2 separate regions of the Homo sapiens genome follow, and region 2 is linked to region 1. Evidence: promoter capture Hi-C in 16 types of primary human blood cells and fetal thymus (Javierre and others, 2016). All regions are on one chromosome and are shown on one strand. The core of a region is centred on a gene start or on the middle of the fragment in contact, and the rest is flanking DNA. Distances in the headings are between cores, read along the strand shown.

The links. The method cuts DNA at HindIII sites, captures the fragments that hold promoters and counts their contacts. A CHiCAGO score of 5 or more calls a contact.
Region 2: a contact is called between a fragment that was not itself captured here and the fragment with the promoter of KIF26B-AS1 in region 1, in 1 of 17 cell types (total B cells). The highest score is 5.4, in total B cells.

Annotation. Positions count from the first base shown.
Region 1 is chr1:245,230,678-245,238,131 of GRCh38, reverse strand. KIF26B-AS1 (KIF26B antisense RNA 1) reads left to right here and starts at 3,615. Exons shown (of 5, transcript NR_151721.1): 1 at 3,615-3,745. The region is part of intron 2 of KIF26B (kinesin family member 26B); the gene reads right to left. RefSeq lists an enhancer at 3,071-3,590. The HindIII fragment of the contact is 7,889 bases long and covers 3,381-7,454 here.
Region 2 is chr1:246,055,017-246,062,519 of GRCh38, reverse strand. All of the region lies in intron 5 of SMYD3 (SET and MYND domain containing 3), which reads left to right. Among named protein-coding and RNA genes, the nearest start is that of SMYD3-AS1, 50 kb to the left of the region's middle. The HindIII fragment of the contact is 2,117 bases long and covers 724-2,840 here.

The DNA of each region.
Region 1 (7,454 bases), core at 2,366-4,865:
TGAACTCCTGACCTCAGGTGATCTGCCTGCCTTGGCCTCCCAAAGTGCTGGGATTACGGGCATGAGCCAGCATGCCTGGCCAAATAACAACTTTTTTTTTTTTTTTGAGACAGGGTCTTGCTCTGTTGCCCAGGTTGGAGTGCAGTAGTGCAATCATGGCTCACCACAGCCTCGACCTCCGGGGCTCAAGTGATCCTCCCATCTCAGCCTCCCAAGTAGCTGGGACCACAGGCACATGTCACCACGCCTGATTAATTTTTACTTATTTACTTAGCAGAGATGAGGTCTCACTATGTTGCCCAGGCTGGCTCTGAACTCCTGAGCTCAAGCAACCTTCACGCCTTGGCCTCCCAAAGTGCTGGGATTACAGGTGTGGAACACTGCACCCAGCTACAATATTCTTATTTGAACAAAAATTTGCAGACTCCCTGTATTAATCCAAACAAATACAGTCTGTACAAAAGACAGTGTTGCCAGTAAAGAATGGAAGGAAATGTGTGTGTTTCCGAAAGGCTGAAAGTAGTAAACTGGGAGCTCCCATAAAGGCTTTTTTGCCATGATGCTCATAGACCCCCTGGGCCCCGGCTGCAGCATCACCATCCACCAGGGTACGGTTTTGCTAAGCAAGGGAAGCAGGCCTTACCACGGCTGGGTGATCACAGGGACCATCACCCACCCAAGGCTTCCTGGGTGCTGGAGGAGCACTTTCCCGTTACAAAAACTCCATCCAGATGGCTTCCAGGAGCCAACAGTGCCTTGAAATGGGTGGCAGGAGGGCAGACCAGCTAACAGAGAAATAAGATGATGCCATATGTCCAGAGAGAAGGGAGGTTAAACATTCACATCTGCTCTAAGTCGTAGTCTAAGGATGGACTTTAGAGTTGCGTGGTATGAGACAGAGCTGTAAGTTACATCTGTCTAGCCCTCATTTAGCAAAGGACACGCCACCAGGGGCAATGGGCAAGAATGGGAGGAAGAAAGAAGGGAAGAAGTAGAAAGAGGGAGCAGAGGACAGAGGAAGAAAGAGAGATAACCAGCCAGCCAGTGTGCTGCTGAAGACACCACGATCTTCATTGCAGACAAATTCTGCTACGTTGTGAGCCTTAGAAGCATTTGTGATCACACGGACCAGAGACTCAGTCCCAGATCGGCCTTAAGTAATTTCAGACAAGTCACTTTACTTCTCTGTGCCTTATGTTTCCATCTACAAAATGAAGGTGTTGGGCTATGTGGTCTCATTCATTTATTCAAGCAACACACACTGATTAGGCACCTACTGCATGCCACCCATGGTGTTCTGCCCTGGGGATACAGCAGCGAGCAAATCCCAGCCCCCACGGGGCTCACGGCCACACACACTCAGTATTCCTTTCCCCTAGCATTGGCATTCTCAGATTCCGCATCATGTATTTTTATTTCTACACTCCATTGTTTTCAGGTTTAGACATTCTTACCAAAAATAGGAAAGGACAAGGAAAAATCAAGTCGCATGCATTATAAAATTTGCTTCAAGAAAATACAACATACCAAACTTCAACCTTATAAAACAAATTTTATTCATAGCATTGCTAACATTATAGGTTTATAAGAAATTCACTTAAAGGTTCTTTTAAATAATAAAAATCCTATAGTTCACATATTAATAATTATAATATTGATTGTCAATTACGTCCCAGGAACTATGCTAAGCCATTTTATACGCAATATCCTTTAACTTTCACAATAAATCTATGATGGAGGCAACATTTATTCCCATTTTAGAGTTGAAGACGTTGAGGCTGAATGAGGTTAAAACTAACTTGCCCAAAGCCCATGGCTGGTAAATGATAGAACCAAGACATGAACTTGGCACTTACATGCTTAACTTTCTTACCTGTATACACCTTGGTCATTAAAACATAAGTGATGCCAGAGGCTCACTCACGCCTGTAATCCCAACATTTTGGGAGGCCGAAGCAGGCAGACTACAAGGTCAGGAGTTCGAGACCAGCCTGACCAGCATGGTGAAACCCCGTCTCGACTAAAAATAGAAAAATTAGCCAGGCATGGTGGCGCACACCTGTAGTCCCAGCTACTCGGGAAGCTGGGGCAGGAGAATCACTTGACCCCAGGAGGTGGAGGTTGCAGTGAGCCAAGATGGTGCCACTGCCCTCCAGCCTGGGTGACAGAGCGAGACTCTGTCTCAAAAAAAAAAAAAAAAATAAGTGATGCAGTGTGTACAAGCAGCTTATAGTGGTGGGGTGTTTTGGGAAGGCGATAAGCACTGTTTATTCTAACTACTCAAAAACTTATGCAAATGACAAACCCGGTATTTCACTCTCATGTCTTAAAATTGTACACACTGTTCCTGCTTAGCACACTGACTATTATTTCAGGAGCTTCAGACTTTACTCCAGTTTTCTGTGGACTTTTCCTTTCTATCTATATTCTGAACCCTTATTCCCTTCCTCCCTCCCTCCTTTCCTTCCCTCTTTCTATATTCTGAACCCTTCCTTCCTCCCTGCCTCTCTCCCTCCGTCTCTCCCTTTCTTTTCTTTTCTTTGTTTCCAGAGTCTCTGTCACCCAAGCTCGAGTGCAGTGGCGTGATCATAGCTCATTGCAACCTCAAACTCTTAGGCTCAAGCGATCCCCCCACCTCTGCCTCCTGAGTAGCTAGAATTAAAGGTGAATGCCACCATGCCTGGCTAATTTTTCTTTTTTTTTTTAAGGAAAGGATCTTGCTATGTTGCCGAGACTGGTCTGGAACTCCTGGCCTCGAGCCATCCTCCTGCCTCAGCCTCTCAAAGCACTGGAATTACAAGCATGAGCCACCACACCCAACCCGTATGTCTTAACGGAAATTTAAAAGCAAATATTATTGAACTGACACAAATGTTCACTTTGAATGACAAAGGACACCTACCTTTAATTAACTATGGCCTTTGAAGTATAACCTTAAAGCAAGAGAGTAATGACCTAGTTTATACAAATCTAACATATTCGAATATTTTCCTGAACACATCAGCTCCACAAAGGAAGGGAAGCGGAGCCCCTCCACAGGCAACTCAACCCAGCGCAGTAGGGACAGAGGAGGAGGCCGAAGGGACAGTGTCAGTTGACACTCTCAGCTCCACCAGGCAGGAGGATGGGGAAGCAGATCTCTCCCACGGACTCTGCCTTCTGAAAGACACAGGGGCAGGAGGCCAGGAGGACCTCCTGCAGAGCCAGCCTGTGTGCCACCGGGTGTCCAACGGATTGGCTAATGGGCCCACTGCTGCTGGCGGAGGGCAAGTCCTTTTAACACAACAGGCTTTTATTCTCTTAGAAACACTTAATAGCAGGCCGGTGTTGCGAGGCCTGGAAACGGCGCTCCCCTGCTGAGCTCACGCAAGTCAAAAGCTTTCAGCCAAACCAAGGAAATGCCCTGCTGAATAAATCAGTGCCCTTCTCCTCGCTTTTCTTCTTTGCAAGCCGCCGGGAAGAACTTCCACCTGCAGACTGGAGCACCCCAAGTCAGGAGGCCAAATTGCGGGCCCATCTCCAACCCAGTCCTGCCCACATGTAACCCAGGAAACACTGCTGTCTCACCAGCACGCCTCACCACACTGGGAAAGTTCTCCCGCCCAGTCCTGTAGCCATCCCTCCCTGCACGCAGAAACGGGAGGTGCACCCAGGAAGCCCTGAGGCCTGGGAGACCCATCTCCATGGAGCACCCCACGAGGCAAGCACAGCACTCAGGCTCACCTGGGGCTGTGCCCCCTGACAGGTGTGTGACGTGTGTGAGTGTGAGTGCGAGGTACAAGTGTGGGTACCACCCAGCCCGGCAGGGGGGCGTTAGATACCATTTTATTGGGTATTTACTTAGAGGTATCAAACAAAGTTCCAACAACGAGAAAGTTCAGAATTTCCTCCACTGGGAACAGGCTACGGTGTTGAAATTTCTTTTTTCTTTTCTTTCTTTTTTTTTTTAAGAGGGAGTCTCGTTCTAAAGGCCAGGCTGAAGTGCAGTGGCGCGATCTTGGCTCACTGCAACCTCCACCTCCTAGGTTCAAGCAATTCTCCTGCCTCAGCCCCCTGAGCAGCTGGGATTACAGGTGCCCGCCACCATGCCCAGCTAATTTTTGTATTTTTAGTAGAGACAGGGTTTTACCACGTTGGCCAGGCTGGAGTCTCAAACTCCTGACCTCAGGTGATCTGCCCGCCTCAGCCTCCCAAATTGCTGGGATTACAGGTGTGAGCCACCGCGCCCAGCCCGAAACATTATTTCTAAGTCCCAATTTTCCATTAAACTAGTATCATGTATATCATTCACAAATAACATGTATTTATGAAGCTGGGCACTCTACTGAACACCACAGATGCATGATCTCAGCAAATGCTCACTCTCATCAGACAGGACAGGTACTAATAGTGTTCCCATGTTAAGTTTACAAATAAGAAAATTATGACAGAGAGAACATGAGATTTGGAATATGTGTCTGTGGTTAGTTAAGAGATTTTTTTTTAAGTGTGTGTAGGGAGAAAGAAAAGTGGCAGGTGGCAAATCAATCTTGTTCTAGCTGGACACTAAGAGTCTGCAGTGTTTCTCACACTTTATGTACATACAAGTCACCTGGGTATCTTCATACAATGAGAATTCTGTTTCAAGAGATCTGGTATGGGACTGGAATTCTGCATTTTCTAACAAGTACCCAGGTAATATCTTTCCACTGGTCCTCAGGTCACGCTTTGAGTAGCAAGGTACTAAGGATGAGGACAGAGAAAATCACTTTACATATGAAATTGTGCATAAAGTTTTGCCATGCCTAAAACTTGGGGTCTATGTGATTCCAGGATCTTTCTACAAAGTAGAATATTTCTTGATCACTGCAATGTTCGATATAACTTAAGGAGTAACACATTCACAAGGCAAATTCTACAGAATCATTCACTTCCTTCTGGGCCCTGTGAGCCTCTTGGAGGATGGAAATGTGTCCTAATCATTTCATTATGCCCAGAGCCTCATACATTGTTTGTCATTTACTCAGTGACTAATGAACGCTTGCTGAGAAAGTGCGTCTGTAATCCCGTTAGTTTCCACAAGTGAGATGAAGATGCCAAGTAATCAGGCTACAGACCCTACAATTAGGGCAGGGATAGCAAATATATTTCAACTTCCAACAAATGCAGATAGAGTAGTAATGGCTGCCTCGTGTGCTACGTTGAGTAGAATTCTGAGGCTTCACTGGGGCTCAGTGAAAAAGAGAACCATTGCCAAATCACATATTGATGTGCAACGTGACTTTGGAGGAAAGGAAGGAAACCGCCGGGTGCGATGGCTCATGCCTCTAATCCCAGCAGTTTGGGACGCCAAGGCGGGTGGATCACCTGAGGTCGGGAGTTCGAGACCAGCCTGACCAACATGGAGAAACCCCGTCTCTACTAAAAATACAAAATTAGCCGGGAGTGGTGGCTCATGCCTGTGATCCCAGCTACTCGGGAGGCTAAGACAGGAGAATCGCTTGAACCTGGGAGGCAGAGGTTGCGGTGAGCTGAGATCGCACCACTGTACTCCTGCCTGCGCAACAAGAGCAAAACTCCATCTCAAAAAAAAAAAAAAAACAAATGAAACCACATGTATTTGCTACCATTTCTAGGTTAGGAACAAAAGGAGGTAAATAGTGCATCTAGATCTTCTCTGTAACATAAATAATGAAGTCATAATTAAGGAGTATTAGCTCTTTAATACAATAAAACATTTTTAATGTTTGTAAGAACTACAAGCCTAAATCTACTCGGGTGCCTTCTCAATAAAATTTACCAAATTCCACATTTCTACTTCTTTTCTTAGAAAACCCTTTCATCTACTCCTGACTGTCCTGCTTCAGGTCTTTTCCAAGCTCCATTAATTACTTGCACTTTTTCCCTTCTCTTGCTTTACAAATTTGGCGTCTAGAGCTGCCAAAGCCATATCCTAATTTCTTCAGAGATTCTGGATTTGGTGAAAACATTGCAATCTAGCTCCATTGTTTTATTATTCAAACTTTCTTGGCAAGGATCTTATGGATGGATACGTCCGATTAATCTCTGAAACATGAAGCCCTCTTTCAAAGTAGTTTTGCATCTTTTGTTCAAACCACCAGTTATTTTGACAAATTTCCTTAGTCTTCTCTCTGTTTGATGGTAACAACCCTCTGGCATATTCTTTAGGAAGGAGTTGTTAGGACAGTAGTCCCTGAGTTCTCGTAGGATTAAAACTTTTTTTTCGATAACTTTGATACTTGAAAGACAGATGGGCTGGATTTAAAATTCTTGATTCAGATGGTCCTTACCTTTCTTGAAAACATTGTTCCATCCTTGTCTTGCTTTGCACGTAGCTGTTGATAAGGCTGATGCCAATCTAATTTTTTTTTCTTTTTAAGTGACTTGGTATTTTTGACTGGAGGCCCAGAGGTTTGTTTTCTTCCTCCTCTTCCTCCTTATCCTCCTCCTCCTCCTTCTCCCTCATCTTTAACCACAAAGTTTATGAGGATACATCTAGAATTTAATCACGCTGGGTCAATTTTCCCAGATGCATGTAGAAACTTTCAGTATGTAGAGTCACATCTTCTTTTTTCCATAAAGAATTCTTGGATTCTAGTTTTATTTATTTTTCTTTTAGACGAAGTCTTGCTCTGTCACCCAGGCTAGAGCGCAGTGGCACGAACTTGGCTCACTGCAACCTCCACCTCCCGGGATCAAGCGATTCTCCTGCCTCAGCCTCCCAAGTAGCTGGGATTACACGTGCCTGCCACCACGCCCGGCTAATTTTTTGTATTTTTAGTACAGACGGGGTTTCACCATGTTGGCCAGGCTGGTCTCAGACTCCTGACCTCAGGTGATCTGCCCACCTCAGCCTCCCAAAGTGCTGGGATTATGGATGTGAGCCACTGCGCCCAGCCTAGATTGTAGTTTTAAATATTAGTTTTATTCCATCTGCTTGTTCTTCAACTTCAATTTTGTGTGTTGGACTTTCTTTGCCTAGCTTATATATCACTTTTTCTCTGATTCTTTTCACCTCTCTTTATCTCATTTTTGTTGTCTTGAATGGTTTCGTTCCTCTTCTCAATATCCCTTATAATTTTTTTCAGTAGAATCTGAATGGACATCTTGTAATCTCGTCTTCATGCCTGAGATGATTTTTTTTTGTCTTTTTCCTCCATTTCTTTCTGGCATGTCATAATCTTTAATTTTACATTTTCCAGCATTTTGTTTGAGATTTTTCAAATTTCTGGTATTAGGTTTTCTTTCATTTCTTTAAATGCTTGTGCAATTATATTTAGTTCATGTTGGAGGTGGTGTTAACAATTTTCATTTTCTTCATGGTTGTTTTCAGGGAGTATTTCCTTCCTTCGTTTTCTTTTTCCTTTCTTTCTTTTCTTTTTTTTTTTTACATGAAGTTTCGCTCTTGTTGCCCAGGCTGGAGTGCAATGGCGCAATCTTGGCTCACCACAACC
Region 2 (7,503 bases), core at 533-3,032, 830 kb before region 1:
TCCAAAACAGACACACCACATATTAGGTTCATCATCACTAGGACAATTTTTGTCCTCTTCTGGTGTCACAAGATGTTTAAAACCAAGATTCAGAGTGTTTTCAGTGATTTAGGAGTTCTGTAATTGCAGTCACTGTGGAGAGGTGCTCTAAATTCAGCACATTTTCAGTGGTACTCCTGATGGATGTTTTTTCTCGCAGAAAGGCCAAGTCATTGTCAAATGGTAGACTATAAAGATCCCCAAATCAGTGACTAACCTCTTTATGATCTCGGGGAAATATTCTGTGGATTTTTTTCTCCCCACTCAGGAACAATGAATGGTGACGATCTTTAAGTCAATGATGTGAATGAATCACATGTGGATGAACTAAGGCTCTTTCCTGATTCTCAGTCCTAATGAGCAGCTCTTCATTTAACCTGTGGGATTCGTTTGTGCTGCCCTGAAAAACTATGAAGTTTTGGCTTGAGGTTGTTGAGATCCTAAGGAAATATCAGCCAAATAAGTCATTTTATTAAGTTAGATGAAAAATCAATTCACTTCCCTTTTTCAGATTTTTATATTGTAACGTTGTGGCCTTTTTTCCCTCCATGAAGAAAAATAAGAATTCAATCTTTGGTTTAGAAACTCTGAGAAGCACCACCTCTTGATCAGGCAATGCACGTCTTTGTAATAGTGCCGGTCTATCAAGGCAGCTCTCATTTCATCACTAACGAATCAAAAGCTTCTTTCACATCACTGTTTCTGGGTTTTTGTGTATATTTTGTTAGCTTTAACTTTTAAAATTATTTTATTTTTGAGACAGGGTCTCACTCTGTCGCCCAGGCTGGGTGCAGTCATGTGATCGTGGCTCACAGCAGCCTCAGCCTCGCTCAAGCGATCCTCCCAGTTCAGCCTCCTGAGTAGCTGGAACTACAGGCATGCACTACCATGACTAGCTAATTTTTCTTTTCTTTTTTTTTTTTTAAGTAGAGATGGCGTCTTGCTGTGTTGCCCAGGCTGGTCTTGAATTGTGTTCAAGTGATCCTCCCACCTCAGCCTCCCAAAGTGCTGAGATTATAGGCACGAGTCTCTGTGCCTGGCTTTTTCTTTTTTTCTTTTACCATTTTATTGGACTTGATGTGGATTTCCCTACCACGCATTTGATCCTAAAGAAACTCTATCAGCACATTTTTTCCAGGTGATATGTGTTTGCTGAAATAGTCATATGGTACCTACCAGTCCTTACTCATATATCTTTTTGCAGTTATTTTTACAAGAATTTAAGCACTTGAGACATTTCTTTTTTGTGTGTGTGCGTGTGACGGAGTCTTGCTCTGTCACCCAGGCTGGAGTGCAGTGGTGCCATCTCGACTCACTGCAAGCTCCGCCTCCTGGGTTCATGCCGTTCTCCTGCCTCAGCCTCCCGAGTAGCTGGGATTATGGGTGCCTGCCAGCACGCCTGGCTAATTTTTGTACTTGTAGAGCTGGGGTTTCACCAGGTTGGCCAGGCTGGTCTCAAACCCCTGACCTCATGATCCGCCCGCCTCGGCCTCCCAAAGTGCTGAGATTAGAGGCGTGAGCCACCATGCCTGGCCTAAAACATTTATTTCTAATGAGAATGAATATGTGAATAAAATCAGCATTCTGTTAGGAATGAAAAGGAATAGATGTGTGTAGTCAGCCAGTTAGTGTACACTAAACCAGTTGGTATTGTCAGTAGCAGTAAGAGTGACTGTCTCCTCAGACTTTTGATGGGCTGGCTTAGAAAAGTAACATGAAGATAAAGTGGGTCCTGGATGTCTTTCTTTATGGGAGCTGAGTGATTATGCCAGACATGAGATCTAGGACTCATTTTGCAAATGAAGAAAAAACAGCTGAAAACTTGTCAATAAAAATGATAACCAAAGGAGAAATTATCATATGATCCAATTTAGTAATGACTGAGGGATCATAAAAATTTATTAAAATGAATAACAGTTTATTGCTTTTCTGCTTTTTCTATTTTTTTCCTTTTTTATCTTCAGAAATCAAGAAAGACATTTTGCTGCTTTGGGAATGTTATGCCATTTTTGTCGTTAAACGGAATATTTAGAGTTAAGATATGATTAGGATAAGGTAAAACCTTATGAAATGTTCTCACATATAAATGTATGGAACTTTTCAATTAGCTGTTTAAAATGAAATATTTATATATGGAGATCTTCTCAGATATATAATGTTTAAAAAAAAAAACGCAACCTTTATTTTTATTTTTTGAGACAGTCTCGCTCTGTTGCCCAGGCTGGAGTGCAGTGGCATAATCGTGGCTCACTGTAGCCTCAACTTCTTGAGCTCAAGCCATCCTCCCATCTCAGCCTCCTAAGTAGCTGGGACTACAGATGTGTGCCACCATGCCTGGCTAAGTTTTTTTCTTTTAGTAGAGACAAGGTCTTGTAATGTTGCCCAGGCTGGTCTATCCTGAGTCTGAGCTCAAGTGATCCTTCCACTTCGGCCTCCTAATATGCTGGGATTATTACAGGTGTGAGCCATTATGCCCCGCCAACTTTTTTTTTTAAAGCAATATATTTAGTGGTCTCTGGAGTAGCTCTGTCAACACTGTCGAATTTGAAATTGTAACTTAAGTATTCTGTACTGTCTTCTCTATTTTAACTTTCATATTAATGCTTAAATGCCTACTGTTCCAACATAAATGGATTTTGCTTAACAAATACTGTGAGTGATTGGGCTCTTACCAGTTTAAGCTGGCTTCCACAAGCAAGGGGCACATTTCTTCTTCATTAGTTCTCCTGATTGAGTTTCAGAAAATGAAATCTTATTATGCCACAAAATAATCGTATCTTACTTGCCTTTTTCCTGAAGCTTCTCAAAAGTTTTTAAGACCTTTTAAAAGGAAAGGAATGGTTTTTTTTCTTAAATCCATCTGTTCCTCAGCCTCAAGTCTAAGATAACGTCTGAGATATGTTGTTTTCAGTTTAGACTCACAAGATATGCAGCACTTGGGCATGGCAATGGCTGGCTCACCATGCTTGATAATAAAATAGGAGAAAAAGGTCCTAGTGCCAGTGGAGTCGAGAGAGACAAAACACCTCCAGTTGGTCATATCTCTGTTCAGTTTTTCAGAACAATGGATTTAACTACTTTTAATAGTTCTTCTGTTAGTATAGAATACTTAAAGTCATCTTAATTTGATTTTTTTTTTTCTCTAGGTAAATGTGTTTTATTATCCCTGCCTCTGCTGGCTTAGAAAATCTAGCAAAAGCCTGCCACTTGAGTTGGCTGTAACATCAGACCCAAAGGATCTATTGCCTCCCTCGTTTACTTTTACCGCTGGTGAATTTGCAGTCCATTAGAAATGTGGAGTTGTGGGCCGGGTGCGGTGGCTCACGCCTTTAATCCCAGCACTTTGGGAGGCCGAGGCAGGCGGATCACAAGGTCAGGAGATTGAGACCATCCTGGCTAACACGGTGAAACCCTGTCTCTACTAAAAATACAAAAAAATTTAGCCGGGCATGGTGGCGGACGCCTGCAGTTCCAGCTACTCGGGAGGCTGAGGCAGGAGAATGGTGTGAACCCGGGAGGCGGAGCTGGCAGTGAGCGGAGATCATGCCACTGCACTCCAGCCTGGGCGACAGAGACTCCGTCTCAAAAAAAAAAAAAAGAAATGTGGATTTGAGTAGGTAAATGGGCACCTTTGTTAACTATGAGAAACATTATCTATAGATTACTTTTATTACAATAAAAGTCCTTCTATACTATTTAATTTTGAAAATTTCCAACAATTTTTATTGTTTCCTCAATAAAAATGGTTTTGCTTTTGTGAGCTGCTATAAGTTCTGTAGAACAGCAAAATGTTGTATATGGCTTCTAGACTGCCAGCTGTTATACTTGGCTATAAAAAGCTTTCCTCAAGCTTCCTTGTACTGGCTTTTGAAAGACAATCTTCCAAATGTTTGAGAAAGTGTAAAATTTTTATTTCCCTAGAAAGAGAAAGGCAGGAAAATGACCCGATTCTGCCAAAGATAAATGAATCATTTATTATTTCGTAAGATAACGTGCTGCTTCAGGTTACTGAATGGGGTTTTCTTTCATCATTCATAGTTTCCACCATACATGTTTTTTAAAAAGATGATTTTTGAAGAGCAAATTTAGGTTCACAGCATAATTGAGAGGAAGGTACAGAGTTTTCTCATATCCCTCCTGCCCTCCTCCCCCACCTCCAACACAAAACACACAGCCTCCCTCATTCTCAGCATCCTCTACCAGAGTGGGACATTTGTGACAGCTGATGAACCTCCATGGACTCTTCATTATCACCAAAGTTCAGCTTCTGTTAGCGTTCACTCTTGGTGTTGTACATTCCGTGTTTGGACAGATGAATACTGATATGTATTTACCTTTATGGCATTATACAGAGGTGCTCTGTGCCTCACCTGTTCATCTCTCTCTCAACTCTCATCCCTGGCAACCGCTGATCTTTTTACCGTTTCCATAGCTTTATCTTTTCCAGAATGCTATATAATCGGGATCATACAGCCTTTTCACACTGCCTTCTTTCGCTTAGTAGTATGCATTTAAGATTGCTCCGTGCCTTTTCATGGCTTGATAACATCACTTACTTTTAGTGCTAAATAATTGTCCATTGTCTGGATGTGCAACAATTTGATTATCCATTCACCTTCTGAAGGCCATCTGGGTTACTTCCAAGTTTGGGGAGTTATGAATAAAGCTGCTGTCAGTATCCACATGCAGATTTTTGTGTGGACATAAGTTTTTAACTCCTTTGGGTAAATAACAAGGAGTAAGATTTCTGGATTGTGTGATGAGTATGTTTAGTTCTGTAAGAAATTGCCAAACTGTCTTCCCAAGTGGCTGTACCATTTTGCGTTCCCATCAGCAGTGAACGAGAGTTCCTGTTATTCCACATCCTTGCCAGCATTTGGTGTTATCAGTGTTCCGGATTTGGCCATTCTAATATGTGCGTAGTGGTATCTTCTTGTTATTTTAATTTGCATTTCCCTGATGACATGTGATGTGGAGCATCTTTTCATATGCGTATTTGCCATCTGTATCCATCATACATTTTTAATGCAAAAACTATATTTGAGGAACAGCAATGCATTTTAAGGGAGAGAGAGTGGGAGGGAGGAAAGAAGGAAGGAAGGACAACATTAGTGAATTCAAACCACTACCTGTAAAAGTAGCTTTTTCTTTTTCAGTTCTGCATGTAACTCTACCTGTACCTAGCTATTACAGATAGACCATAGCTGTTATAGGTAGACTATATGGAAGAGGAAGGCTAATATTTATTGAGAATTTCGTATGCCTCTAACGCTATGTTAAGCACTTCACATCCATTATTTAATCATCACAAAAGCCCTTTGAGGTAGATGCAATTATTATTATTGTTATTTTTATAGACAATGTCTTACTGTGTTGCCGAGGATGGACTTGAACTTGGAGTCAGATCTTTCTACCACAGCTTCCGGAGTAGCTGGGACCACAGGCAGGTGCTACTGTGCCCAGATAGTTACAATTATAATCCGCATTTTGCAGTTGAGAAAACTGAGGCAAAGGGAGATCACGTCAGGTCACAGCAGTAGGACGGGACCTGGGAAGTGTGACTGTGGAGTGTGTGTTCTTAATCTGTGTGCCCAATTGTTAAGTAAGGAGAAATTACAAAAGACAAAGGTTTCAATAACTCTTTGCAAGAAGTCCTTAAATGTGAACAGAAGTACCTATTTTCCACACATTTTATGTCCTTTTTTTTTCTTTTTAGTTTACATGTATTTATGGGCTACAGAGTGATATTTCGATACATGTATATAATGCATAATGATCAAATCAGGGTAATTAGCATATCCATCAGCTTGAACATTTATCATTTTTGCCACACTTTTTATCTTGTTGATAGTGCACAATTTTCATGGCTTTGCCTCTTGTTATTTCCCCTCATGTATGTAGGTCTGGTGAAATCACACGTAGGGAGAACATTTTTACAATGCACATTTGTGAAGGCTTAGAAACACGGTGGTTACAAACTGAGCTTTGCCACTTAATCTCGTGTGACCTGGATAAACGACTTCATACCAAACTTCATATAGTTTCCTCATCCATAAACCTGTAACACTCAGGCTTATTGGAGTAACATATGAAATGGAGGTTATCTAAGTATTTGTTGAATGAATGTCCCCCTGCCCGCACTCCCTCCGTTTTTTTCTTTTTCTCCTGCTTCCTATGAAATAGAAAACTGGTAGGCATTGCAGGATGAAATGAGGAAAGGCAGGGAGGAGAGGCATAAAATATATTCTTGCTAATTTGCTAGTGTCTTTTTTTCCCCTCATCAACTTTATTGAGCAATAATTTTATGCAGTTAAATGAATCTATTTAATTGGATGAATTTTGACAGTTTTATATACCCATGAAGCCACAGTCACAATCAAGATAGAGAACATTTCCATTACTTCCAAAATATTTCTGTGCCACTTTTTTCTTTACTATTTCCTTATTGTAGTAAAATGTATATATAATGAAATTTTCCATTATGACCACTTTTAGGTATACAATCCAGTAGCATTAAGTGCATTCATGTTGTTCTGCACCCGTTACCACTGTCCAGCTCCAGAACTCTTTTTCATCATCCAGAACTGAAACTTTGAACCCATTAAATGATAACTCCCCATTCCCCTTTTGCCCCAGCCTCTGGCAACCACCATTCTACTTCCTGTCTCTCTGATTTTGACAATTCTAGGTACTTCTATAGGTTGAATCGTACAATATTTGTCCTTCTGTGTCTAACTTCTTTAATTTAGCATAATGTCTTCAAAGTTCACCAATATGATAGTATTGATCAGAATTCCCTTCCTTTTTAAGGCTGAATAATATTGCATTGTATGTATATACCACATTTGATTTCTCCATTCATCTGTTGATGCATATTTGGGTTATGTCCACCTTCTGGCTATTGTGAATAGTACTGCAGCGAGCAAAGGTGTGCCAATACCTATTTGAATCTGTGCTTTCAGCTCTTCAGGTTATATACCCAGAAGTGGAATTGCTGGATCATATAGTAATTATTTTTTAAAATTTTTTCTTGTCTTCTTTTATTTTTAAAGACTAGGTCTTGCTATGTTGCCTAGGCTGGCTTTGAACTCCTGGTCTCAAATGAGTCTCCTGCCTCAGCCTGCAGAGTAGGAGTACCTGGGGCTGCAGATGTATCACTGCACCCAGCTCGTGTTTAGTCTTTTAAGGAACTGCCAGACTGTTTTCCACAATAGCTGCACCGTTTTGCATTCCTACCAGTAACGCACAAGGCTTCCAGTTTCTCTACATCCTTGCCAACATTTGTTTTTTTTTTTGTTTTTTTCTGAGACAGAGTCTTGCTCTGTCACCCAGGCTGGAGTGCAGTGGCACCATCTCGGCTCACTGCAAGCTCTGCCACCCGGGTTCACTCCATTCTCCTGCCTCAGCCTACTGAGTAGCTGGGACTACAGGTGCCCACCACCACGCCCGGCTAATTTTTTTGTA